2 separate regions of the Homo sapiens genome follow, and region 1 is linked to region 2. Evidence: promoter capture Hi-C in human tissues and cell types (Jung and others, 2019). All regions are on one chromosome and are shown on one strand. The core of a region is centred on a gene start or on the middle of the fragment in contact, and the rest is flanking DNA. Distances in the headings are between cores, read along the strand shown.

Region 1 (2,767 bases), core at 166-2,665, 510 kb before region 2:
CACCTGTAGTTTCAGCTATTCAGGAGGCTAGGTGGAAGGACTGCTTGAGCCCTGCAGATGGAGGTTGCAGTGAGCTATGATGGCCCCACTGAACTCCAGCCTGGGTGACAGAATAAGACCCTGTGTCAGGAAAAAAAAAAAAAAAGGCAGAATCTCAGGCTCCATGCCAGAGCCGCTGAACATGAACCTGGATTTTAACAAGCTCCCAGGTGATTCCTGTGCACGTTTGAGAAGCTCTGACTTAAGAGACAGGCTGAGCAGGAACAAAACAGTGCTCCAAATATAGGAAACCAAACTGATATTTTCAGATACAAAAAATAGAATCAGCCCCCTTCCTCCAGTAGGGTGTAATTAAGCATTAGTCACAGAGGGCCGAGCATCTTTGTGCCACATGACCAATGACCATACTTCCAAGGACAGGCCCCCAGGGGAAACGCTGGGGGAAGCTGGCCCATTCATCTCTAGCACTTTCTCAAACCACAGTGGGGTCACCTCCTCAAAGCAGAGGGAACGGAACTGAGCATCCATCTTGGATGCTGCCTTTAAATCAGATTTTCCATTTTTGCTTTTCTTCCCAATGCATTTGGCTGGTCTGACCAAATAGCCAGTCATTTAAAGGGAGGCACCTAGAAAAGGACTGTGCCCTGCTCGTCCCCCTTCCCGGGGCCTTGAGGCTCTGCAGACCTCAGTGCCAGGAGCTGGGTGTTGATGAAGCTTTCTGGGAAGGAGCTGACATCACACCCTTCTATGAGGGAAGCAGGTGCAAATGGTGCTTCCATCCTCAGCGAGGGCGCAGATGAGGCTTAAAATGAGCTTGGCAGCCACAGGCTGACCCCCAGCTGGGGAAGGAGAGGGCTGCTTCAGGGAGAGGTTTGGGTGTTCAGATTCTGTGGCTTGCAAAGCTCTCTCCTACCTTCAGTGAGAGGTTTGGGTGTTCAGATTCTGTGGCTTGCAAAGCTCTCTCCTACCTTCAGTGAGGATGAGTCATCCCTTAATTCCTCTCTCCTCTCGGCCTGTCTTGAGTCGTACTTATTTTTATCCGTGGAATGGAGTTAAGTTGCCAAAAGGATGATATTTCTCCACCTGCAAGGGCCCTCCTGGAGGATACATTTTAAAATATTCATTTTTACAATTTCCTCCCAGCAATACAGCAGAGGACAGGAGAGGAGAGGTAGACAGCCGCACGGGCCTGGCGGGGGAGCCTGGGGCTTGGGGAACTGCAAAGTGGCTTTGAGACAGAGAGACATTCTAGAAGTTATTCTGAGGACATAATTGGACAAAAGTGAAAAGGAGGATGGTTAAGTATGCTCTTCATAACTCTCTGTATAATACTGAAGAAATCAAAGCTAACTGTAAACAGTCCTGCTGTTTTTGCCTGTGCAGCCTGCAGATCCCTTATTTTGGTGATGAATCTCATGTTTTTCTCTAGGGAACAGCCCAACACCCATTGCACAGGGTAATCTTAGGGGGTCTGCCAAGCCAAGATGCCTGGCTCTGCCCTTGGCTGGGGCGGGCATGTGACCCAGGCCAGGCCACATGGAAAGGAGCCACAGCAGGATCTGGAAACATTTGGATTCAGCCCTCCTGATGGTGGTGCCTAGAGAGGCTTCCCTGGTTCTTGAAGGGGTCCCTGGCCAAGTCCTCTTTCTAGCCCTTATTGAGGTTTGGCTGTTTACTCCTTCCTGAGATTCCATAAGCCACCCCATGGCATTTCAGTAAATCCCTTTCTGTGCTTAAGTTGACAGAGTTGGTTTCTGTGATTTGTAACTAAAATCCCAGATGGACACAAACCCAAATGCCTGGCAACAGGGGCTTAGATCAGCAAAGTAGGCTACAGCACACAATGGAATACTCCACAAGCACGTACAGCGATGAGATAAACATGTATTTGTTGACATGGAAAGAGGTTCACAATGTACAGTTAAGTGCAAAAGCAGATTATAAGAAAACAGTGTGCATAGTAGGATACCACGGTGGCAAAATCTATATTCTATATATTCATAGAAAAAGGCCTAGAAGAAAATATAACAGTATTCACCCCAGAGAGTGGGATGGCCAATGAGTCTTCTTTCTGCTTCTATTTTCTAATCTTTCTACAATGTTTGTGTAGTCAGTTTTCCTGGTTTGCTTTTTTTTTTTTTTTTTTTTGAGCACAGGTGGGTCATGGGAGTCACGCTCTCATGCTGCCTGTCAAGAGCATGGTACTTGCTACAGGGGCTACTCCCCAGCAGCTCTGCTTAAGAAGATTCTGGGAATGTCTTGAGTCTCCAGAACAAGGAACAAGCACTTCCTGTGCCCAGGGAACCAGCAGCTTCCCACTTCTTCTCACAGCAACCTTGTGGGGTTGAGGTTTTCTGTCTGCTTGATGGAAAAGAAGAGCCCAGAGAGGGGAGGTACCTGCCTAAGTTCACACAGCAGGGATTTAAAGCCGGGTCACCTGGCCCAGAGCCCCGGGGGCTATTAAAGCTTATGAACAGAGCAAGCAGCTGAGCCCAGGGAAGGGCTCAACATTCTCCCGTGATTTCCGCTGTGTTGACAAGCTGCAAATGTGCCAGGAAAGGACTGGGTGTGGTGGCTCATGCCTGTAATCCCCGCACTTTGGGAGGCTGAGGTGGGCGGATCACCTGAGCTCAGGAGTTCAAGACCAGCCTAGGCAACATGGCAAAACCTCGTCTTTACTAAAAATACAAAAAATTAGCCGGGTGTGGTGACGCACCCTGCTACTGGGGAAGCTGAGGCAGGAGAACTGCTTGAACCCAGGAGGTGG
Region 2 (2,991 bases), core at 21-2,520:
TTCAAGGAGGCCCTGTCTATTATCAACAACCTATCAGCCCACTGAGATGCCTGAAACTCATTTCAATATTTTTAAAAAAGCAAAGTCACACCATTGTGGACATCTGTCTTATTTACAGTTGTCTCATCACAGTCTGGGAATATTTTTAGCTGAATATAAAATAACCATCATCCTACCCTCCCCTTCAGCCATACCTTCTGGTTCTGGATTTATAGACAGCATGCAGACTTCCCAGCCCCTAAGTGAGAAGAAAGCTGGGGTCGGTGGGGGTGGGGGTGGGGGGTAGCAACAGGCTGAAGCTTCCAAAAGAAAACTAGTATAGATATGAGCAAGAGAGCTGGGCACAGTGCTTCACGCCTGTAATTCCAGCACTTTGGGAGACTGAGGCTGGAGGATCGCTTGTGTCCAGGAGTTTGAGACCAGTCTGGGAAACACAGGGAGACCCACATCTCTACCAAAAAAAAAAAAAAAAAAAATTAGCCAGGCATGGTGGTGCCCTCCTGTGGTCCCAGCTTCTTGGGAGGCTGAGGTGGGAAGATTGCTTGAGACTAGGAGGTCAAGGCTGCAGTGAACCATGATCATGCCACTGCACTTCAGCCTGGGCAACAGAGTGAGACCCTGCCTCAAAAAGAAATAAGAAATGAGCGAGAGGCCACAAAAAGGAAACAAAAACCAAAAACCCAACAACATGAAATTGCTTGCATAAGATAGCTGCACTTGTATCCCCTAAATCTATAAAAATAAAAAAATTCCTTGCCACTGAGGAGAGAGAAGGGGAAGCAGAGAAGCAGAGAATTATGAAGACCATTTGGTAGAGGGAATTTGAGGAACACCAAAGAGGATGCCTCTCACTGTGCTGAAAAATCAAGGCAGGCTTCACAGAAGAGGGCATGCCCAGGCTGCTTCTAAAGGAAAGCTTACATTGTTGGCTGAATTTCGGTGCAATCTACGGAAGAAGATGGGGGAATCTTTTTCCTTGGGATTTTGTAGAAAGGAACATCTGTGCCCCTGGAGAACCACAGGCCTCCCCCGCCCCTGCCCCTGCTATTTGCTCCTGTGACCACTTTTCCAATGAACTCTCACCTTGATAGGATGCCACGAGCCCCTTTTGATCCTCTAAGGAAGCGTCATAGTGGGTAAAAAAATAGAAGAGGAGAATGAGAGCTGCTTCCAGTGTTAGGGCCCAGAGGGGCAGGCAGCGCCGGACAGACCGCGGGTACTTAGAGCTCATCCTGTGTCCGTCTCTGTGCAGGGGTTCCACCAGCACCAGGCATCACCCCTCTCTCCAACACCTACTTGAGGGCTTGAGGGAGCGATAGGGGAGACACCCGCCAAAGGCCTTATCTCAGGCTGCAAGGCTGGTTGTGCTGGCCTCTCTATGGAGTTAACACGGAAGCAGAGGGACTATGATGGGGAGGGGAGGAAATGTATGTTTTCCAATATTGTCATTCATTCAACAAGTTGCTGTGTTCCTGTTACAGGTTCCTGCTGTGCTCAGTTTGAAAGAGGGCATTCTATTCCTTTGACACCCAAACATAATCCTTCTTTACTCTGTACTTCAGTCATCTTCAGCATATCCTTGTAAGAAAAGCAAGGAATGGATCAATACTCCTATTTTATGAATAAGGAAACTGAAGCTCAGAAGAGGCTTTCTTTTTAAAACCTTACTACATGACAGAGAGGGCACCCAGTGAGCTCTTAACAACAATGTATTGAATGAGAATGAATGAAAGCAAAGAATGGAGCTGAGCCCTGGGGAGGATACAGATAGGACCCACGTAGAACTGACTCCTCATAGTTACACAGTTGAAATTACTTACATTTGAATTTGTATTTAAATCTATGTGTTTCTAAGCATTTTAAGGGGGGGTGGCAGAAGAGAAAGGAGATGTGGGTTTGGCTCTAGTAAAAACCTGGAGGGGATCCTGATCCAGCCTTAGGGTGAAGTTGCTCTACCTCTGGTCACCTCCTCACAGGGCAGCCCAGGACTCTGCCTGGGGCACTACAGTGCATTTGAGGAAGGCCACCAGCCTCAGCATCCCCATCCCTCAGTACTGGACAGTCCAGTCCCCTGGCATGAGCTTTAGGGGGCTTGGGACTTAGTTCTAACCCTGCAGCCAACTTCCCCTGTGCTCCCATCCATGTGCCTGGCAGAAGGTCTGGTACATGGTAAGTGTCGAGGAAGGAAGGAAGAGAGAGAGGGATGTAGAGAGGGAGGAAGAGATGAAAGAGGAAGAAAAGAAGGAAGGAATTGGAGTTTCCTTATTTTCTACAATGGTCCCAGCCACTGGCCACTGAGTGTAAACTGAATGTGTGGAGCCCCAGAGAATAAAGCCAGGGCCAGGAGCTGCAGGGAGGTGGAAAGTGGATACTTTATTGACCATTACAGTTGTCCACTGAAATACTCATGAGGTAGTGAGCACCCTGTCACTAGAGGAATGCAGAAATGTCTTGAAAACAATTCCTATGTAGATCAGAGGAGATTTTAATCACCCAGTCGAATCCTGTCATTTTGTTTTTAGACCAAGAAACCAAGACCCAGAGAGGTCATACCTAAGGTCATCTAGTCACTTGGCATCAGTCACTTCTTGCTCAGTGCAGCTTTATTTACAGAAGGAAAAAACTGAGACTAACCTAAATGTCCACTAGCAGGGGGTTGGTTAAGAAAACTACAGGACATGAAACTTGCTACCAATATGATGGTTCTGAACATATGCAGGAAAAGCAAGAGGAAAACGCTTTTATCAAAACTGACACAGAGGATAGACTGTTTAGTGAAAAAGCAAGTTATATAACAGCATGTACAATATATTCCCACTCTTATAAAATAATATGTTAGCACACGCATAGAAAAAAGTTGGCTGCAAACCACTAAAACATTGGTTAATTTTGCTTTATACATTTTCAGAGCTAACTGTTATTAAGTACTTGCTAGGCACCATTCTAAGTACTTTACATATATGAACTTAGTTCATGACACTGGGATGGGTA

The links. Contacts are between HindIII fragments. The study calls those that stand out against the background at their distance.
Region 1: a contact is called between a fragment that was not itself captured here and the fragment with the promoter of RHD in region 2, in 1 of the 25 tissues and cell types used here (dorsolateral prefrontal cortex).

Annotation. Positions count from the first base shown.
Region 1 is chr1:25,785,305-25,788,071 of GRCh38, reverse strand. No RefSeq gene overlaps it. Among named protein-coding and RNA genes, the nearest start is that of SELENON, 14 kb to the left of the region's middle. The HindIII fragment of the contact is 5,414 bases long and covers 1-2,767 here.
Region 2 is chr1:25,270,788-25,273,778 of GRCh38, reverse strand. It overlaps RHD (Rh blood group D antigen), which reads right to left and starts at 1,270. Exons shown (of 10, transcript NM_016124.6): 1 at 1,084-1,270. The coding sequence starts at 1,231. All of the region lies in intron 1 of LOC105376882 (a long non-coding RNA gene), which reads left to right. It also overlaps a transcript of RSRP1 not described here. The HindIII fragment of the contact is 5,221 bases long and covers 609-2,991 here.